Regions from separate parts of the Homo sapiens genome. Here all the other regions are linked to region 1. The links are contacts of gene promoters, found by promoter capture Hi-C in blood cells and fetal thymus (Javierre and others, 2016). All regions are on one chromosome and are shown on one strand. Each heading gives the region's core, a stretch centred on a gene start or on the middle of the fragment in contact. The rest is flanking DNA. Distances are from core to core; before and after follow the strand shown. Region 1 holds the start of CARNMT1 (carnosine N-methyltransferase 1). Region 2 has its middle 26 kb from the start of ANXA1. Region 3 holds the start of GCNT1 (glucosaminyl (N-acetyl) transferase 1). Region 4 has its middle 18 kb from the start of RFK. Region 5 overlaps PCSK5 (proprotein convertase subtilisin/kexin type 5).

What was found. Contacts are between HindIII fragments. The CHiCAGO score rates a contact against its expected background, and 5 or more counts as called.
Region 2: a fragment that was not itself captured here is called in contact with the fragment with the promoter of CARNMT1 in region 1 in 1 of 17 cell types (total B cells); the score reaches 7.0 in total B cells.
Region 3: a fragment that was not itself captured here is called in contact with the fragment with the promoter of CARNMT1 in region 1 in 1 of 17 cell types (total CD8 T cells); the score reaches 6.9 in total CD8 T cells.
Region 4: a fragment that was not itself captured here is called in contact with the fragment with the promoter of CARNMT1 in region 1 in 1 of 17 cell types (total CD8 T cells); the score reaches 6.7 in total CD8 T cells.
Region 5: a fragment that was not itself captured here is called in contact with the fragment with the promoter of CARNMT1 in region 1 in 1 of 17 cell types (activated CD4 T cells); the score reaches 5.2 in activated CD4 T cells.

What each region holds. Positions count from the first base shown.
Region 1 is chr9:75,025,741-75,030,060 of GRCh38, reverse strand. It overlaps CARNMT1 (carnosine N-methyltransferase 1), which reads left to right and starts at 1,768. Exons shown (of 8, transcript NM_152420.3): 1 at 1,768-2,049. The coding sequence starts at 1,820. RefSeq lists a silencer at 1,547-2,236 and an enhancer at 2,887-2,936. The HindIII fragment of the contact is 4,364 bases long and covers 1-3,299 here.
Region 2 is chr9:73,124,131-73,128,450 of GRCh38, reverse strand. No RefSeq gene overlaps it. Among named protein-coding and RNA genes, the nearest start is that of ANXA1, 26 kb to the left of the region's middle. The HindIII fragment of the contact is 7,110 bases long and covers 1-4,320 here.
Region 3 is chr9:76,457,073-76,461,392 of GRCh38, reverse strand. It overlaps GCNT1 (glucosaminyl (N-acetyl) transferase 1), which reads right to left and starts at 2,211. Exons shown (of 4, transcript NM_001490.5): 1 at 2,088-2,211; 2 at 1,216-1,333. RefSeq lists silencers at 827-896, 1,887-2,426 and an enhancer at 1,167-1,276. The HindIII fragment of the contact is 6,561 bases long and covers 1-4,320 here.
Region 4 is chr9:76,374,220-76,378,539 of GRCh38, reverse strand. No RefSeq gene overlaps it. Among named protein-coding and RNA genes, the nearest start is that of RFK, 18 kb to the left of the region's middle. RefSeq lists a silencer at 960-1,220. The HindIII fragment of the contact is 3,239 bases long and covers 495-3,733 here.
Region 5 is chr9:76,030,588-76,034,907 of GRCh38, reverse strand. The region is part of intron 5 of PCSK5 (proprotein convertase subtilisin/kexin type 5); the gene reads right to left. Among named protein-coding and RNA genes, the nearest start is that of PCSK5, 140 kb to the right of the region's middle. The HindIII fragment of the contact is 1,268 bases long and covers 1,894-3,161 here.

The sequences.
Region 1 (4,320 bases), core at 519-3,018:
TACTCGGGATGCTGAGGCAGGAGAATCGCTTGAGCCTGGAAGGCCGGGAGGTTGCAGTGAGCTGAGATCGTGCCACTGCACTCCAGCCTGGGCAGCAGAGCGAGACTGTCTCCAATTCATATTTGTAATCCTTTGCACTTTCTTTTTGAATTTTGAAACATGTATTACTGCATTACTATTAATAGACTCACGTTTTAGAAAACTTTTATATAAAAATGTTGTCATTTTAAGCATTACCTTTATTTCAACTATTAATTTAAATTATGAAAATATGAAGCCACTTCACTTTCAATATGGTTGTAACTTTTTAACAGACTTTGTGGTCACTGGGCATATTTAACCCCTCGAATAAAGCAATCTTTCCCTTTTATCATTACTTTGTAAGACTCATTTGCTGGGTGGTGGATTAAATTGAACAGAATAAGTTATTTCTTTTTCTTTTCTTTTTTTTTTTTTTTTGAGACGCTGTCTCGCTCTGTCGCCCAGGCTGGATGGCACGATCTCGGCTCACTGCAAGCTCCGCCTCCCGGGTTCACGCCATTCTCCTGCCTCAGTCTCCAGAGCAGCTGCGACTACAGGCGCCAGCCACCAAGCCCGGCTAATTTTTTGTGTTTTTAGTAGAGACGGGGTTTCACCATGTAAGCCAGGATGGTCTTGATCTCCTGACCTCGTCATCCGCCCACCTAGGCCTTCCAAAGTGCTGGGATTACAAGCGTGATTCACCGCGCCCGGCCCCAGAATAAGTTATTTCCCAAGAGCCACCCTTAGATGCTGGTAGGTGTAATGGTCTTCCCAAGACCAGGTGCTGGATAGAAGGTCCTTGCATTTTCCTCATCTGTTGCCATCCTCAGTAAAGGAGGAATTAGGACTGCCGCAAGCCCCTAAAGACTGGAAAGATGGGACGGGCGCGATGGCTCACGCCTGTAATCCCAGCAATTTGGGAGGCCGAGGAGGGTGGATCGCCTGAGGCCAGGAATTCCAGACCAGCCTGGCCAACATGGTGAAACCCCATCTCTACTAAAAATACTAAAATTAGCCGGGCGTGGTGGCGCGCGCCTGTAATCCCAGCCACTCGGGAGGCAGAAGCAGGAGAATCGCTTGAACCCAGGAAGCAGAGGTTGCAATGAGCCGAGATCGCACCACTGCACTCCAGCCTGGGCGACAGAGTGGGGAAAAAAAAAAAAGTGAAAAGATGATGGCGCCCACTTCCGACCCCCTTAAGTAATTAAAAATAGGAATTCATTTAGGAAGTGAATTAAAACTTAAATTAGGGTGGATACAAGACGTTCCTTCTAGACTTTCTGAAATAAAAATTCCGAATAAAATCATCAAAGCCGAACTTTTCCTTTTTGCCTTTCCCTTCTTTGCTAGTGCCTGGGACCGCGTTCAGCCTCCAGCTCAACAATCCGGCACTCGCCGGCTTTTAAGTCCCACCCACGCGGCCGCGCACAGGTAACGGCAGTGCCAGTCCCACCCCACCTACGAGCTCCTCCTCCGCCTCCCACCAAGGGGCCTTGGCCCCGCCCTTGGAAGCGTGGTTGTGACGTCAGCGCGCTGTCTCCGAAGCCCGGCAGCAAATGAGCGCAGACCGCACGGGCCCTCCGCGTACCAAGGCACACGCATGCGCATTGGTTCTGGGAGCCCTGAAGACCTGGCGGAGCCCAGCGCGGATGGAGGCCTGAGGGTGGCGGGGGCGGAGCGCGCCGCGAGCTGGGGGCATGTCCGCGGCGGGCGCCGTCTAGAGGAAGGCCAAGCAGCCGCCACCACGCTGTCGGTCGCGGAGAGACGCAAGCGAGCCAGGCCGAGGGCCGCGGCGGCGATGCAGCGACGGCGTCGCCCTCCGCCGCCCACCTCCCGGCTGCCCGAGGGCTGCGGGGGAGGAGGCGGTGGCAGCGAGGAGGTGGAAGTGCAGTTTTCCGCCGGGCGTTGGGGCTCGGCCGCGGCGGTTTCGGCGGCAGCGGCGGCGGCCACGCGCAGCACCGAGGAGGAGGAGGAGAGGCTTGAGCGTGAGCACTTCTGGAAGATCATTAATGCCTTCCGCTACTACGGGTAAGGAGCCCGTGGCGGACCCCGGCCCAGACCGTCGGGGCGCCCACTGGTGGCGGCGGACCCGCCGGAACGGGGGCGCTCGCCGTCCCGCCGCCACGCCTCCGAGGCGTCGGGACCCGGCTGCTGCAGCTGACCTCCGGGCCCCGAGTCACCTCGCACCACCCCAGCCCCTCCCGGCCCTGCACACCCGCGTGTCCGCCGCGCCGTCTGCTGCACAGCCTCGTGTCTTCTGACCTCAGGATCAGATTAGCTCTCCTGCCTCCGTCCTCGTAAAGGTTTGGCTTTGAGGCCGATGGGGGTGACCAGAGAAGCGCTGTAACAATTTCAGATAGAAGACGATGGTGGTACAATCGTCCACTGCTGGGCTGATTGGTGTGTGTGGTCGATGTCCTCCAAACTGAACACACGGAGAGCCCAAGTTCACCTACGCGTGGGATGCTGTAGGACGTATTTTCCCAAACTGTTACCAGTGCTTGTAAGAGCAGTTTAAGATTTCCACCCACCCCTCTTTGGCGCTGTGAACGCACTTGCACTTTTGTGTGAGCGATTGAATGATGCTGCTCAGTGTCTTTAACTGGTGGGTGATTAAGGGCGGAAGTGGTCCGGATATTCTAAAATTTGCTAATTATTAGGAGAGATGAGAGAAGTCACAATAAGAGCTGCCTTTACGTTCTTTTTTTCTGCAAATCTGTATCTAATTCTCCCTGGTGTGCTAGGCACTGTGGTAGGACCTTTATGCTCCTCATTCATAAAAACAGCTCCCTAACTTCCACGTTTCTTCTAGATAGATGTTAAAGTAGCTTAATCACAAAATTATAATTCCAAGAGCTGAAAGGGACTTAAATCAACTGGATTTTCAGGTGAAGATAACACTTTTATTCACGTAAGAGATATGAGTCCACCGGTGACTATGTTCTGAGGCTGCAGTTGGAATCAGACAGACATGACCTCCTACGCAGGTAAACCTGTTCCCATAGGTGGGTTCCTGCTGTGCTTTATGCAAAGTTTTTTTATATTGTTCATCTTATGTATTATAGTTGTTTTTATAAATCTCTTGCTTTGCTGTGACCTCCTCAAGGGCAGGGGCTGAGTCTTTTTTATTTTTATGTCACTAGTGCTTGGCATATGTTGTTTAAGCTCTATTTTTAACAAAACAAATAGTAGCAAAGAAATACATTTCTCATTCCCAAATAGTCTGTCAAGTTTTTGACTGATAGTTAAATTAGTTTACTAGTCTGAATTTAGAAGCTTGCTTAGTGAAAGCTTAAAGTTATTTGGAATCTGATTGTATATGTGATAGGAACTTTTGAACTTCGAAGATCTTGATGAAATAATTTACTGATTAAACCCAGAAATAGGGACCAGGGACAGCATTACTTTACGGAGCCCAAAAGAGAAGTTTGGATATTTTATTTCTCCAGGTTTAGTAGTAACAGAGGGAGCAAGGCGTCAGACCATCAGAGAATTGAATTTGATGCAGGAATTGTGACGGAAAGAACCATAAAGTTAGGAAAGGCAGCTAACATCAGATAGCTAAGAGTGGGAGATACAGAAAAGTCTGGTACATTTTGCTCTTGAAAAATCTAGAAAGAATATTGGGAAATGTCTTGGGAATATGGTGGACCCATTTAGTTAAGTGCGTAGTTGTACTTACTTTTAATATATTAGGACCAATTTAAAATTGATATTTATGGGTAAGTATGGGATGGGACTTTGTTGGGGTAGGGGTTGATCAGGAACTGAAGTGTGGCAATATAGAGAAGAGATCTTGTGTGAATATTCTAGTGGTTGTGATACTATTTCCTATACTCTCTTCTTTACCAGCGTAATGTTGGATTCAGGACATTTCATTTTTTAAAAAAAACAGTTTTTATTTGTATATACTCTCTTGAAACACTTCAAATACTTGGGCTGAAAATAGTATAACATCAAAAATATGCTTTTTAAAATGTCACTTAAAGCCTAGGGGTACAGAAAGTTTATGTAGCAGAGAACAGTGGATTGTTACATTCTAATATTTTGTGATCTTCTAGACTTAAACTGTAGCCACTAATCATATCTGGATAAATTTAAGCTAAAATTAATTAGTATTTAATAAGCTTTAAAATTTAGTTGCTCAGTTTCACTACCCATATTTCAGGTGCTCAATAGCTACATGTGGCTAGAGTCTGCTGTACTGGACAGTGCAAATAAAAGCTTTTCCATTATCGAAGTAGGTTGTGATGGACAATCCGGTTCTACACATTTAGCAAGTACAGTTGACCCTTAAAC
Region 2 (4,320 bases), core at 496-2,995, 1.9 Mb after region 1:
GATAGGGCCTTTAAAGAGAAATGGCCTCTCTCCTTGCCATACCACGTGAGAGAGTTTTCTCAGAAAAACCAAACCTGCTGATGCTTTAATCTTACATTTCTGGCTTCTGGACCTTGAGAAAATAAATGTTTATTGTTTAAGACACCCAGTCTTAAAGACACCCCTAGCAAACTAATACAGCAGCCACTGATAATCACAGGGTGCTGTCTCATGGGACTGAGAGCACACTGAGGCAGCTATGAATGTAGTGAAAGAGCCATCAGAGGGAAGAGCACCCATGGTGTCTTCTCTGGCCCTAAGCCTTCATTGCCAGGAAACCATTTGCAGAACACCTGATTTCTGTCCTCACAATTTTAGCTTTTGCTCCATTAGACATCCTGTTTTTTCCAGAAAAGGAACCTGAAATTGCCACTCATACTTGGTCAATGTAGGCTGCTCTAAAAAGTTTACCCAGGATAGCTTTTATATAATAGAGTATCAACTATGGACCCGGGAAGATCATTTGGATACATCTTGACGTTTCTCCACCTGCTGATAAAAGTGAATGAGTAAATACAGCAGCTGTAGTAGGATGAGGGCAGGGTACCAAGAGCACAGTTCCTTCAAGGCTGAGGAAATGTGTCCCCCACAGAATGATCAATTTAGACCACCAGGTACAACATTAACCGAGGATAAGGAAAGTCTAGGATACTGGAAGAATAAAAAGAACACTTAGTTGATTGATTACTATTAAAGCCTCTGCTTAGTTTAATATATATTAAATTCTGTTTTCTTAACTGCACACACAGGGATTTCCATCACAGTCCTAAAAAACAAAATGCATAGCCAACTTTGAGAATTGTTGTCTATATGTAAGAAAAAAATGCAGTAAACAATCACACAAGTGGCAGAACCTCTTTGCTTCCATAAAGGACTAATAATAAGACCCATATTTTAGTCTACTTTGTTAAATCTGATTGTACATAATTTTATATTTCCAAATCTAATTAATATAATGACTCATTGAATGACATTCTACCATATAGTAAAATGTTAAAGTTGATCTTACTTTTTTCGCTCCTCATCTCTATTGTTTGTATGATTTTTTTTTTTTTTTTTTTGAGACGGCATCTTGCTCCGTCACACATGCTGGAGTGCAGAGGCACGACCTTGGCTCACTGCAACCTCCGCCTGCTGGGTTCAAGCAATTCTCCTGCCTCAGCCTCCCGAGTAGCTGGGATTACAGGTGCATGCCACCACGCCTGGCTAATTTTTGTATTTTTAGTACAGACTGGGTTTCATCATGTTGGCCAGGCTGGTCTCGAACTCCTGACCTCGTGATCCACCTGCCTTGACCTCCCAAAGTGCTGGGATTACAGGCGTGAGCCACTGTATCCGGCCTGTTTGTATGGTTGTTATCTTTACCTGGGATTATAATTTTACATATTCATTGCCTGCAAAAGATATTTACTATGAATCTTTAACTCCAAAATTAATATACCTAACATCTTTCTTATTATCTAAAAAAATTACAAGAATGATGATCCAGCTTTCAAACTTTTAAGAACAAAACATAGAGATGCAGTTCTTAATAGAAAGAGATACAAAATGGTAAATGTGGTATAGTATTTTTTATTCAAATTAGGAATATTTTATATAAATATATACAAAAATTAGGTGATTATATTTTTATTCTGTCAAATATAAGAATTGATGTGAAATCATTTAGTACTATTTTTAATAATAGAAATTGAAAATGTTGCATGTTACTTTATAAGTGACATGAGAAATTAATGTAAAAGGGGCTTTGGGTTATCTTCAAGAATGAATTTATGTGGGGACATTGTTTATACCCATACAATAGAAAATATCCCAAACACAATTCAACTTTTAATAGAATAATCTTCAACACCTTTCCGGAGCTAAAATAAACTTTTAAATAAATATTGCATGGACATTATATTTTGTATGGGAAACTATTTTTATGTTAGTTTCACAAATGCTTTATTCACAACCAGTGTGAATTAACTTTTAAATCTACAAATTAAAACATCAAAATCTCATGTTATAATACAATAAAGAGACAATTTTATTCCCAGGAAACAAAACTGAGTTAGTATTTAAATCCTAGAAACTAAATATAGACAAAAATATTAACTTTCCAATTCAGCCAATCTCCAATTAACACATATAGGAAAAAGAGTGGGGGGAAGCGGAGGGAGAGCATTAGGACAAATATCTAATGCATGCAGGGCTTAAAAACTAGATGATGGGTTGATAGGTGCAGCAAACCACCATGGCATACGTATACCTATGTAACGAACCTGCACGTTCAGCACATGTATCCTAGAAATTAAAGTAAAATTTTTTTAAAAATCTTAAAACACAATAACTTCATGCTTACAGAACATAGGCTTATTGTGAGGAAAAAAACCCAAAAGTCCATAACTGTTACAAAGTTGGACAAGGTGTGAACTGAAAAGGCAAACATTTGGTGAGCACACAAATCAGCATATATTCTAATATTGTAATATTATCTCATTTAAACCTGTTCTTACTCATGTGTGTGTCATCCTAGTTTTCTCTGACTTACAGCACCTCACCCTTATTCCTCATCCATCCAAGTCTCTGAGTGTCTCCAGAGAAGCTGCAGTATTCAGTGGCTGAGAATAGTGATTCAGAGGTCATACTACTTGCCTTCATTTATCTATGCAACCATATTGATTTAGCCAGGAAATGTTTTAGGTACTGAAAATATAGGAGTGAAAAACAGTCCATACACAGTTAATCCTTGAACAGCATGGGTTTGAACTGCATACGGCCACTTAATACATTAATTTTTTTTCAGTAAAAGTTACATCAAGTGTGCCTGCCTCTCCTGCCTCCCCTTCTACCTGTCTACCTCTTTCTCTGCCACCCCTGAGACAGCAACACTAACCCTTCTTGTTCCTTCTCCTCCTTAGTCTACTCAACCTAAGGATGAGAAGGATGAAGGCCTTTATGATGCTGCACTTCCATTGAGAAGAAATATGTCTTCTCTTCCTTATGATTTTCTTAATAACATTTTTTCTAGCTTACTTTATTGTAAAAATTCAGTATATATACATATAACATACAAACATGTGTCAATCAACAGTTTATGTTATTGGAAAGGCTTCCAGTTAACAGCAGGCTATTTAGCAGTTAGGTTTTTGGAGAGTTAAAAGTTCTACTCAGATTTCTGACTATACAAAGGGTTGGCACTCCGAACCCACATGCTGTTCAAGGGTCAACTGTACCTGTCTTCATTAAGGTGGTTTTTTTATGGTGTAATATACATAAATAAATTGAAAGATCCATAAATAAGTAAATAATTATCTTAAATTTCTGAATCTTTTACTTACTGTACAACCTTGAGTATGCTATTTAGCTAACTAATCTTCAGAATATTTTTTAACCTGTAAAATTGAGATGCTAATATTGAATACAGTTAAGTATATAATATGAATATATATTTGTGAGTGTGTGTGTGTGTGTGTGTGTGTGTATATATATATATAGTCTTTATCCATTTTATGTTGCTGTAATAGAATACCCACAAACCAGGTAATTTATAATGAACAGAATTTGTTTGGTTCATAGTTCTGGAGGCTGGAAAGTCAAGAGCAAGGTGCCAGGATCTGGTGAGGGCTCTCATGCTGCATCATCCCATGGTGGAAGGCGGAAGTGCAAGAGAGCATGAGAGCAAGCAAGAGAGAACCAAACTGGCTTTTATAAATTCCCACTGTTGCAATAATGAGCCCACTCCTGCAATAACGACATTAATTCATTCATGGGGTGGAGCCATCCTGACTTAATCACCTCATAACAGTTCTACCTCTTAATACTGTCACAATGGCAATTAAATGGCAACATGAGTTTCAGAAGAGGCATTCAAATCATTGCCATACACACACACATACACACACACACACTATATATATATATACGTATATATACATATATGTGTGTATATATACGTATATATACATATATGTGTGTATATATACGCATATATACATATATGTGTGTATATATACGCATATATACATATGTGTGTATATATACGCATATATACATATGTGTGTGTATATACGCATATATACATATGTGTGTGTATATACGCATATATACATATGTGTGTGTATATACGCATATATACATATGTGTGTGTGTATATACGTATATATACATATGTGTGTGTATATACGTATATATACATATGTGTGTATATATACGTATATATACATATATGTGTGTATATACGTATATATACGTATATATACATATATGTGTGTATATGTATATATACGTATATATACA
Region 3 (4,320 bases), core at 757-3,256, 1.4 Mb before region 1:
TCTTGAACTCCTGACCTCGTGATCCACCCGCCTGGGCCTCCCAAAGTGCCGGGATTACAGGTGTGAGCCACTGCGCCCGGCCCTCTTTGTGTTCTAAAAAGGAAAAAATATGAGCCAATATTTAAAATCAGGCTTTACATTTTTTATTTTTAAGTAAAAGTTCTCAGCTATTCGTGGAAAAAAAAAAAAAAAAAAAAAGCTGCCTACACTGTATGGCTGAATGGGAATTCCTGCATGGATACTCGGTGGAAATGGCCAATATCCACCCAGCCTTAGCAGGTTCCTCTGCAGTCACCTGGGCCCAACCAAGCACTCTTGTGCATTACCTGTTTAGTCCATGTGGATAAAGTGGATTTTGTGATCCCAGTTTTAGGGAAAAACGTTTTTCTTACTGTTAAGCAATTCAATTACAAACGGAAAAGGAGTAACTCCTTAAAAAGTGAGTGGAAGCATTGCTATCATTAATCAAGAATGAACTATAATTAATGAAGGATAGAATCTAGTACAAACTTGGGGCCAAGGCTAAGGAGATCCTTTACAGGGCCAAGTTGAAGGACGGGCAGAGGAGGTGGCAGTGACCGTCAAACCCTCATCATGAAATGGAAAAAATATCAACCTCTCGGCCAATAAAACTTTTTAAAAGTAAATTCATAGTTTGGTATATTGTATTTTAAAATAAAGGAGTTTGCCATTTCTAAGAAATCAGTTTCCCAAAACTACCATTTTAAGGGCCCGAAAAAAATTCCTTTAAGAAAAAGCAGGTATCTACACAGTCTGAGTTTTCCTCCCTGCTAGAACTGAAATCTGTTACGAAAGCCTCCAGCAGGGGGGCCTGCCTGGAATTGCCTAAGCTCCTAGCAGGTAATTTACACTGATCTTTAAAAACTACTAAGCCCTCCTCCTCCCCTCTATAAAACAAACCGGCCTTTCAGAACAGCTCTGGAAGGGGGGCAGAATGCCAGACGAAGAGACAACTTCCAGACCACGTCTCTCACCTCCCACCCATCAAATTCAGCCCACAAAAAGCTGTGGCCGCATTCTCATCTCAAGGCACCACGGCTTTCTTTGAACACCATATATCTTCCCAATTGGCCTCTTGCCCCATTATGTGTAAAAAACCGACTCTCTTTTCTGCAGAAAGAAATAACAAGGCAAAGGGTGTACAGGGCAACGTTTATATGCATCTACAGCATGCCAGGTGCCTACAGAACCTACCTCGGCCTAGGCGGTCCGTGCCCTAGCCGGGATCTGCAGGCGCCCTCATCCACGCTGGGAGACGGGAAGAGGAGAGGGAGGCGTGACAGGCGAGGGTGCCTGTGCTGCGCAGAAAGCGCTGCCAGGAGAAAAGAAGCAGTGAGCAAGGGCTTCTTCCATTTCAAAAACCTAATAACCAAAACTTGGAGGAATCTGCCTGAGATACTTAAAAAAAAGAGGAAAGAGAAACCTAGGAGGGGGTAAAATGCTTTTAAGACGAATCACTTGTTTTCGTAATAGACCCTGCGCGCGAGTTTCCTAGACTGCCGCGAGAAGAAGGAAAGCGAGGGAGCAGGAAAGGAGAGGCTTCGGAGCCCCTAAACTAACGTCTCTTTTCTTATTAGTAATAGTTTGCTCCAGGGTGAGTCATTTATTATCCTAGCGTTGGCCTCTTTATCAGTAAAGTAGGGGTGAAAATGCATCTTAGCCGGGCTGGCGTTAGGATTCAATGAAGTTAAATGAAGTTAAGCCCCTGGCACCCATGGGATGGCAGCGAGTCTGTTCGTTCCCTGCCTATCCACGCCCGCAGCCAACCCCTCCGACATCTAAGCTACACGGACCAGGGGCAAGAGGCCAGAAAGTGACTTTCAGGGGACACGGGGCACCGGCGTCCCAGCCCCACTGAGCGGACGGAAAATGAAGGTGGAAGGAAGAGGCGCCGCTCCATTCCGGTCCCGGGCGCACCCCGGTTCTGCTTCCTCCTCCGCGGGGGAGCCCAGCCCGCCCGGGGCCACGGGGCACTGGCTGAGAGCCGGCTCCCTCCCACCCATCCTTCTCAGCCTTCCCCCACCGCCGGGCGGCCGAGCAGGGGAACACGAGGGAGAGCCGGTTACCTGGAGTGGGCGTCTGACCCCGGAGTCTCAGGAGGATGCCCAGCCGCTCCTGCTCCACCAAGCTCCCGCCCCGCGCCGCGCTCTAGGCGCTCCGGAGCTGCGCCTGCAGCCCTCACACCAGCGTGGCCCGCCCCGGGGCCGCCCCCAGAGGCCCCGCCTTTCTAGGCCCCGCCCACCACGTCCCCGCCTCGCCCACCTGCGCGAGCTCGGGGCTGGGGACTTGCTGCGGACTCGCGGTTCCCGCCTACAGGCGAGGGCGCCCTCTGGGCACTGACGTGGTCTGGGAGTAGCGCTGCGATCCTAGTGCTTCCTCGCTCCTCTTCCTCACTGTGCTCTGATTCTTAAGAGGTGTGTGAGCGGCGTCTTTTTAAACATTTTATGCCTCCCTTCCTCGAAAGCAGGAAACTCGAGAAATGCTGCCTTTTCTGATTTTAAACATGAAAATATGTTACAGAACAACAATAAAATTAAATTCCAAGGTTCTCGATATGTAAAGTTTAGAGATAACCATGTAGGTGTTTTTTTCTCTCCCCTAACGAACCTTGCTTCCTAAATTTAGCATTTAAGAACTCATTACATTCATGTGTATTTCCACATAAAAATTAAGATCAAATTAAACTGTGGAACAATCCACAGTGCTGTGGAAAGTAGGAAAAAACCTTCCCCGCCCTTATAGCACAGATCTTTGTGTCAGTTATAAAAGTTGACACAGTTCTCTTTGTAACAAGGGGAATATTGTGTCTGTGTCTTCTTTCGTTGGATTTTTAGCTCCTAGAAAACAGAACGAGGTCTTATTTGTTTCCATGTTGTTTAAAAAAAATTCTGGCCGGGCGCGGTGGCTCACGCCTGTAATCCCAGCACTTTGGGAGGCCGAGGCGGGCGGATCACCAGGTCAGGAGATCGAGACCATCCTGGCTAACATGGTGAAACCGCGTCTCTACTAAATATACAAAAAATTAGCCAGGCGTGGTGGCGGGCGCCTGTAGTCCCAGCTACTCGGGAGGCTGAGTCAGGAGAATGGCGTGAACCCGGGAGGCGGAGCTTGCAGTGAGCCGAGATCGTGTCACTGCACTCCAGCCTGGGCAACAGAGCGAGACTCCATCTCAAAAAAAAAAAAAAAAAAAAAAAAATCCAACTCAGAGGCCATTAGACTGTGATATGTTTGACACTTGCCTGATTTGTCAACAAAAATTAACATAAGATGATGGTATAGAGGAAGAAAGACTTCCCCTCTACTCTCTGAGGCTTGGATAACTAAGTCTATGAAATAAATTGACTGCAGGTAGATTAACAAGAGAAAAAGTACACAGATTTCGTGTAGGGGGTATCACAGAAAAGAAAAACTAATATTCCCTCTGCCTCCCCCAACAAAAACTGAGATTTTAGGAGCTTGTGTATCCTCTTCATTGGGGAGGGACAATTTAGGGGAGAGGAAATGATTTTGGGAAAAACTCCTGAACTCCTTCAATGGCTAGCTTTGTTTAATATCTCATGAAATTTTTCATGAGCAATTCAAGCATAATTGTTAAGAGCAAGTAGATTAGGTAAATGTAAATGGAATAAAAGTTTATAAACTTTTAAAAATAATTTGTTTTATAAAATTTGTCTACTTAAAAATAGTTTTAAAAATCTTTTTTGGTGACTTGAAATTTCGAACATATTAAATTAAGTAATAGATATTCATTAAATGTCTGAGTCATTTGTAAGTTAAAATACTGACATGTTAATTGCTAAACATAAGTTTAAAGTATAGCCGGGGCTGGGCACAGTGGCTCATGCCTGTAATTCCAGCACTTTGGGAGGCCGAGGTGGGTGGATCACCTGAAGTCAGGAGTTTGAGTCCAGCCTGGCCAACATACCAAAACCCCGTCTCTACTAAAAATACAAAAATTAGCCAGCTGCGGTGGCGTGTGCCTGCAGTCCCAGCTACTCAGGAGGCTGAGGCATGAGAATCGCTTGAACCCGGGAGGTGGAGGTTGCAGTGAGCTGAGATCGTGCCACTGCACTCTGGCCTGCGTGACAAAGCAAGGCTCCATCTCAAAAATAAATAAATTAATTAATTAAAAATAAAATATAGCTGGCTGTTTGCAATGGCTCACGCTTGTAATTCCAACACTTTAGGAAGCCGAGGTACAAGTATCACTTGAGCCTGGGAGTTTGAGATCAGCCTGGGCAGCATAGCCAGACCTCACCTCTACAAAATAAAAATAGATAAATTAACCAGGGGTGGTGG
Region 4 (4,320 bases), core at 865-3,364, 1.3 Mb before region 1:
AACTCAAACGGTGTAGCCAATATACCTCAGAGCTAAGCGTCAAATCTTAGTCTTCAGCTTAGATTCAGAGGGACATAATCTTAGTAGAATCAGGCTTAGCTGCCATGCCCTGGAGTTGTGAACATCTGGGACTCGGGTCCCTGTGAGCTGTGGATGCTGGAGGGTAAGTGAGGACGATCTGCAGGCCCACCAGTACAGCTTCTGTAGGACATGTCAGTTCATCCTTTGCTTGGCTCTTGCCGCTGCTAGCTGGATTGTTTCAGGCACCAGGATAAAGTTAGCAAAGTTGGAGATCAACCTTTTAGCAGAGGCAGCAAAAAGGCAGAAACTTCATAGACACATAAGCCCTAATCAACTTGATACACTGTGGACAGGAACAAAGTCTCTGAGCCTGGAGGAATTGGGATGTAACAAGGATCCAGAACACAGACTGGACCAGAATAGTCAACTAATGTCAGGAGAGAATAAGCTTAAATCTAAGCCCCTGGCAAGCTTCTTGGCCTACCTGTTGTTATTCCTTTGACTCATAGCTATCTTTTGTTCCCTGTAGAGTTTTACCACACCTGGACTCTCCATAGCAAGCTCATGTTCCCTAGTAATCCCCAAACTCTGATTGCTTATCCAGATTCCAAGCCTTGGCTCATTTCTTCCCATTCCCTCCACTTATGCCTACCCATCTGTAAGATGATGCAAATAAGGAGCCCTTCATTTCTTCATACTTTTGGAAGAGGCTGCCCAGGGTAAAATCTTCGTGATAGATGCAAATTGATACACATTCCAAGTCCTAGAAAATCCAGGTCATGCTAAAAGATTGTGAAACCCTTTCTGCCCATAACTAATTTCAATTTATAAGGGAGTGGAGTTGAAGAGGGGAGGGGGGAAGAATTCCTTTGGAGATATCAGTGTGCTCCGCCTATATCCCCTTTAAGTATCAATCAGGGAGCTTGACTTGTGTCCCCCTAGCTTAGGAGGTGGGACATAAGAATTGTATGAGAAGTTGTGGCTGGATTGGCAAGAGAACACAGCAGGAAGAGAGAAGGCAGCACTTTCATCCTCTCTGTAGGGGGTTGAGGGTGGACAAAGATGCATGCTTCCCATGGACCAGGTCTGCAGATATGACTGGAGTCATATTTGCAGAAGATTCCATTCAAGATGGCAGCCTGGAGAGGTAAAGTGACCCAGAAGAGGGACAGATGAAAGACTTCCAGAAGCTCAGGGTCTGAAATGCTTCTTGGAGGCAGTCTGCTAAAGGAGGCATTGGGCATACTACAGACATTGCAATTGAATTGCCCCAAAAGGGAAAGTTCAGAAAGAGAATATGTTTTCATCACAGCAAGCTGAGAGTCAGCCACGTAGGGTTGGGTTCTCTTCCCTAATCTAGAGTTTCTCAAACTATATACTGTGAGATCAAATTAGTGGATTTTGGTCATCTTTTAAAAAATAATAATAAACTAGAAAGCATTGGAAAATATATTGGTTGGATAAATATTGTTTCCTGAAACTTTTGCTTCAGTTTTATAAATAAGTGTTGGTGTAAATTTTATTTTTTACTGTGAATGTGGTCCAAAAAAGTGAAAAGTTCCTGTTTTAATTTGTTCTCCCTGTGCTTGGTTTTGGAGGGATTAGGCAGCTGCAATACGGGAGATCAAGATCAAGGCCTCTGGAGCCAGGCAAGTTATTTTACCTCTTTGTGGTTTAGTGTCTTATCCATAAAACCCGGATAACAATAGTGCCTACCTCATAGGGTTGTTAGGATGATTAAAAGGATGAAACTATCTGATCCATGCAAAGTGCTTCTAATGGTACCTAAAAAACAGTATGTGCTTCACAAATGCCAATTGTTTTTGTGGTGCTGGAGATTTTTTTTTATCATGGCCAAAGATAACAATGTGATTTTAAAGACACAGTAAATTCTTCCCTAAATTATGTGCACAGTCCAGTTTTGTTCAGGTCAAGACAATGATTTCTGTGAGCAAATACATACTCCTTAAATATTTATGGAGTAGCTATTGTATGCTGGCATTCTGCTATGTGCTAGGGGTACAGAGTGGAATAAAATAATATCCCTGACCTTGAAGAACATACAGTCTCCAAAAGAAATTCCAATTTATTTGACTTTATCTTCATCACCCCCATGTGGTGCCTGGCATATTGTAGGTCCCTAGGGAATAGATGTTTGTTTGTTTGTTTGTTTAAGAGACAAGGTCTTGCTCTGTCACCCAGACTGGAGTGCAGTGGTGGGATTGTAGCTCACTACAGCCTCCAACTCCTGAACTCAAGCGATCCTCCCACCTCAGCCTCCCAAGTAGCTGGGACCACAGGTGTGCACCACCATGCTTAGCTAGTTTTTAATTTTTTTGTAAAGATGGGATCTCCCTATGTTACTCAGCTGGTTTCGAATGCCTGGACTCAAGCAATCCTCCCAGCTCAGTCTCCCAAAGTGCTGGGATTACAGGTGTGAGCCACCACACCTGGCCTCTAGAAAATATATATTGAGTGCATTTTGTTGGAAGGAATCATTAGCTCTCTTTACCTCAGCCAGATGCAGTAAATAAGGGAGCCTCTTATCATGTCATCTTTTCTTTTCTTTTCTTTTTTGAGATGGAGTTTATCTCTTGTTGCCCAAGCTGGAGTGCAATGGTGCGATCTCAGCTCACCACAACCTCCGTCTCCCCGGTTCAAGCAATTCTCCTGCCTCAGCCTCCCGAGTAGCTGGGATTACAGGCACACACCACCACGCCCGCCTAATTTTTTGTATTTTTAGTAGAGACGGGGTTTCTCCACGTTGGTCAGGCTGGTCTCAAACTCCCGACCTCAGGTGATCTGCCCACCTTGGCCTTCCAAAGCATGTCATCTTTTCTAGTACATTTGAGATGTGGAGGAAAGAACAGCAGCATCGGAGACTTTTTCTGTAAATGCCAAAGGTTTCCAAAAGTCTACATTTGAAGAAAGATGAATTTGCTCTTGTAGACATCCTCTGGTGTCTCCTTTATACTGTTTATTGAAAAAAGTTTCTAGGGAAGGAAAAAGAAAGGAAACAGATGGCTCCAAATGACAGAGCAGAATCTTACGATTTCTTCTCTCTTTGCTGCTTGGAGCAGCTGAGAAGCCAGCAGGAAAGAAAAGCAGGGATGTTGTGTGTCCTCCTGAATCATTCATCACCTCCTTCCTCCACTCCAGCATTCCCAGTCCCTCAGCTATGTAAACAGAGCTCTGACGTCACAGCCCAGGGAGGTCAGGCAGGGTGAGTAGGGCCAACACTTCCTCCCACACCCTGCTGTTCAAAGCATTGCAGACTTCCAAGCAGGTTGCATGGGAAATTAACCAATTGACAGGGTGGTTTTGTTTTTGTTTTTGTTTTTGTTTTTTTTAGCACAGAGGGAGTAAGAACCAGAGAAGAAATGGAAAAAAAAAAAGGGTGATTTGTGATTTGGGACAATAAAGCCATCCCTAACCTTGCTTTGGAAAGAGTATAGAGCTGTAGGCTGTAGAGTGACAACACTAGTGCGGCCCAGGGTCAGAATGTGGGCGCGTCTCCTAAAAGGGCCAAGAACTACCATTAGAAAGGGCAACAGTAAAAATTGACACTTAATTGTCATGTGCGTTTACACGTTTATAACGCACAATGCATACCCGTATATATTATGTCAAATGAGTTGGCCAGTGTCACGTGGAGCTGAAATGGGAATGAAGATATCCTGGACTTGAAGACCAGCTTGCTTTTAATTAAGCTTTTCATGTCTGAAATTCTTCCCCTTCCATATCAAGCCATCTTCCTCAGTGCTTACATGATTTGTAGATCTTAAAGAGCTGTTCTCCTCCCCTCAAAGCTACCACAGCCCAGGGAGGTCAGGCAGGGTGAGTTTGGTATCTAAATTCTTTGATCCACTTGTGGGTGGAGGTAGATGCAGTAGCTGATGCATTTTGCAAGCTGATCAGTGCTGTGAGTATATTGAATATCAGGGTCAGCTCTGTGGGTGTGCCCTGTGGCCAATCAACAACACAGGGCCTCATGCTTATTTTTAGTTTTTGAGACAGGGTCTCACTTTGTCACCTAGGCTGGAGTGCAGTGGCACAATCTCGACTCACTGCAGCCTTGACCTCCTGGGCTCAAAGGATCCTCCCACCTCAGCCTCACAAATAGCTGGGGCTACAGGTGCCCACCATCCCATCCAGTTAATTTTTGTAGTTTTTGTAGAGACGGGATTTCACCATGTTGCCCAGGCTGGTCTTGAACTCCTGAGCTCAAGGGATCCGCCCACCTCAGCCTCCCAGAATGTTGGGACTACAGGTGTGCACCACCATGCCTGACCAGGGCCT
Region 5 (4,320 bases), core at 1,278-3,777, 1.0 Mb before region 1:
AATTCGGACACATTTTGCTCACTCATCTAGATGAACCAATCAAGGTCAGTACTCTTGTAATTATTCTAAGAAAGAACAAATGGATATTTTATATCCCGAACTAAACTGAAAATCAACTTAGTATATGTTCTTGCCTTTCTATTTCCTACTCTGGCAAATGTGACCCCATCTAGGATTTTAAAAAAGTTTTATAAAAGAATTAATAAGTTCACAGGTGCTGTGAAACTGATTGGAGGGATAACCAGCTCATACCATGCGGGATGAGAGAAGGCATCACTAGAAAGTGACATGCGTGGGAGGTGAAGGAGGAATTCTCCAAGTGTAGATGGTGGAAGGGTGAACAGTTGGAGCACATTAGAGGAATGACACAAATCCTGACGAATGGAGGAGGAGGAAGAAGAGGAGGGGATACATAGAGTAGAATAGACTCGATAATAAGGAAGGGAATGGGTCCTGAAGAGTCTTGTATTTTTAACATATGTCAAGATAGTAAAGGATTTTAATGTTCTTATTTTGGTTCAGAAATATCACTCAGGGAGCAGGATAGGGGAAGACCAGAAACAAGGAAACGATTTAATAAGACTCTTAACAAGGGTATAGGTAAGAGAAGGGGAATAAACATAGTGGCTACTGTGGGTGGCTGGGGGTTTGTGTCTAAGGCTTTTGAGAGCTACTACAGAGGAGGAATTAATTGGTATGAATTGTCAGGACTTGCTGACTAACAGTTGTTGAGATGAAGGGGAAGGGATGGCTGGCTTCTGGGGTGAAAGAAGGCTTTTCCTATTACACCGCAATTTTCCGTGGGAGGCCACTTCCCAGAACCTACACAATGATCAAAGATGTTACTTACTTCAGTGTAATGCATCGTGAACCTGTATGTATAGAAATGAATTTTCTAAAATATTTGCTGTAGGTTCTTTCATGAATATAAAATCTATGGCTGTTACTATGATCTGAATGTTTGTGTCCCTCCAAAATTCATGTGTCAAACTCTAATCCCTAACATGTTGGTGTTAAGAGGTGGGGCTTTGGGCGGTGGTGACTAGGTTGTGAAGGTGGAGCCCTAGTGAATGGGATTAGTGCCCTTTTAAAGAGGCCTGAGGGGCTTGTTTGTCCCTTCTACCATGTGAGGACACAGCAAGAAGGCACCATCTCATGAGGATTGAGCCCCCAGCAGACAACAAAATGGCTGGTGCCTCGATCCCAGGTTCCAGAACTGAGCATTACATTTCTATTACTTATAAATTACCCAGTCTAAGTTATTTTGTGATAGCAGCCTGAACTAAGACAGCTGTATATGGAAAGTGTCAGATTTTTTTTTTTTCCACAATTGCATGTTTGGTATACATTAAGCCTCTAGTAATGTACATGTACACTTGTAGTCCACGTTATGTAAATTCATTTGATAATCATTGATCAAGTATCTACTATGTAGTATACTGTAGATGTTATTTTGCAAAAGTATTAGAGAAAAAAATTTGAAAATATTTGAAAATCAAATCAGCCTCTGATATTGACCCTCATTTTCTTCGTTAAGTTTTGTCTGACCTACTAAGCTATAGGAAAACTTTATCTTAACATATTTGGCCAAATCCTTGGTACAAAGAAAAAATGTTTGTACGTGTTAAGGCCACAGACTTACAGTGTGTTTTTTTCCTCTAGTACTATTATAATAAGTTAACATATTTCCCCTATATGCGGAAAATGCTGACTATATCTTTTGGTTGCTTTGGAACACTATCTCCTCACAACAGTCCTTGTCTACAGAAATGGGAAAGGGAAGGACACATTTTGGTTTCTGCAACATGGCAACATTCGTAAAACCAGAAATGATGTGTGACAAGAAACTAAAGAACTAGACGAAATTCACTTCCATTCACCCTGGTTAAAGCTTCCTTGAATCAGAGATAAGAAACAACATGAAAAATCTATTCCTTTTAGAAAACAAGTCTTTAACCCAGAGGTTGGTTTATTTTGAAAAGGAATTAGACTCTGGGCCCACATACCGCTCGTTCAAAATATAATGCTGTGGTTTCAACTCCTGCTAAATGTTGCTGTGACTTTTAAGCAGAGAACTTCTAAAAGGAAGTAACCTAGGGAGGGGCTGATATAACTCAGACATCAATAATTCATTTTATTGGAAATAGGAGTAGTAGTATGAAATGCTAGCAGACTGTTTCATTTGCAGGGAGGCATTTTCTATTTTAAGCCTAGAACAATGCAGTCAGCTTTATTTGGCAAGCTAATATGAATGGAGGCAAAGCTGAATCGAAGGATGGGTTTTTATGATCTCCTCTAATCACGCTATTTCTTTAGCATCAGTTATTTAAGTCTGACATACCACCATTTGGGAACTTGCAAAAGTGACGAGAAAGGGATTTTTATAACTTTTGTACTTCAGAGGTGATTTCCTTCACTCCAAAGCCTTGGCACTAGAAATGTAATCATGCAAGTCTAAGAGATGATTTGCATAGTTTTGAGGCTAGATCCTCTGTTAGTACTAAAAACCCTTCAGGCATTAGAGTTTCTTACTAAATTTTCTCCCAATTCAGCCCATTAATAATCTATACTATTTCATCATTGATTCCCCAGGTATTTAGCACAGAGCCACTCGCCAAGCAGCGTCTTAATGAATACTGCTTGAATGAATAAACAAACGCAGGCAAGTATGACATAATTCCAAATATGTTCTGAAGCCTACTGGTCTGATTGTTCAGTGAGGAGGCATTTGCATAGCACATGCCTCAACTTCCTTATTCTGATGATAATTACAAATTCCTCACCTTCACTATTTTATATCAAATTCAAGGACTCATGCTCTACTAAGGGAGATGGGAAAATGGAATTAAAGAAAAGCAGATTTACTGTAGACGGAAAAGAGCCACAGCTCCCAGCCCCAAGGAAGCAGACAAACCTATCTCAACTTCTAACCCTGGAAATAAACCTTAAGTCCCCCAAGGACGCAGACAAACCTATCTCAACTTCTAACTCCGGAAATAAACCCCAAGTCTTAATTTAAATTTGAAGTGTTCATAGGCACACATATTTTGAGATAACTGTAATTTTTAACTAGTTATTTATCAAGAATTAGATATATGAATAGAACACACAATTATAATAATAACAACTGTAATTATGTAGCATCTATTATGTAGTAAGCTTGGTATTTTACACATTTTATTGATAATCTTTAGAGGTATTTTATTATTATTATTTTTTGAGACAGGGTCTCGCTCTTTCGCCCAGGCTGGAGTGCAGTGGCACAATCTTGGCTCACTGCAACCTTGACCTCCTAGGCTAAAGCAATCCTTCTATCTCAGCCTCCCAAGTTTCTGGGACCACAGGTGCATGCCACCACACCTGGCTATTTATTTATGTATTTAGTAGAAACAGGGTCTCCCTATGTTTCCCAGGCTGGTCTCAATCTCCTGGACTCAAGTGATCCTCCAGCCTTGGCCTCCCAAAGTACTGGGATACAGGTGTGAGTCACTGTGCCCAGCCTAGAGGGAAGTATTATTATGCCCATTCTAGAGACTTTTTAGAAAGTACTGAAAGCTCAGTTGTTAGCTCAAAAGACCATAAAGATAATCAAGGAGAGCCAAGGCTAAAAGTCAACTTCTCTAAACTACAAAGCTACTCATTTCCTAACTCTAGGTGGCCACTATCCAAACAGAGTTATCTATCTGTGGATTCATGCTTAAAGATAGATCCATTGATCATATCCATTATTATGGTCTAATGAGCAAAGAGGGCATTTTAATCCTAAATGCCTGACTACATGCTCTTGGTCAGCTGAGAAAAAAAATCAGGCAGAACTACTGAGAGGAGCTAAAGGTAAATCTATACCCTCGGCACTGCTGACTTCCATAAAACAGAGGCAGGGAGTGCTGGTGTTACACCTGTGAAAATTCCCTATTTCACCGTCAGGATGGCAAACCTAAGCACACACTGGGAACAATGTCTGTGTCCTCCAACAATCAATCCCCCACTGCACTCAATGAACCATGGCCAGTGCTTAGGATGGGTCAAAGCAGGACACCCTAGAATACCCCAGATGAGCACGACTGTCATGATTCTTCTTGAACAAGGGTCTTGGGAAGTGGCCAAGTTTAAAAGAAATCCTTAAGGAAAAAAAAAAGCAGTTTTAAAAGGATAGTCTATAAAAAGCCATCAAAGCCAATATTCAAAGAATTGCCTTTACATATAGTCTGTATTATAATACAGACTACAACACATATTTGGCTTATTTAATGTATTAAAATCATGCAGGAAACATTGTTGAATATAAAAAGGTTTTTAACTTTCTTTTGGTTATAGTCA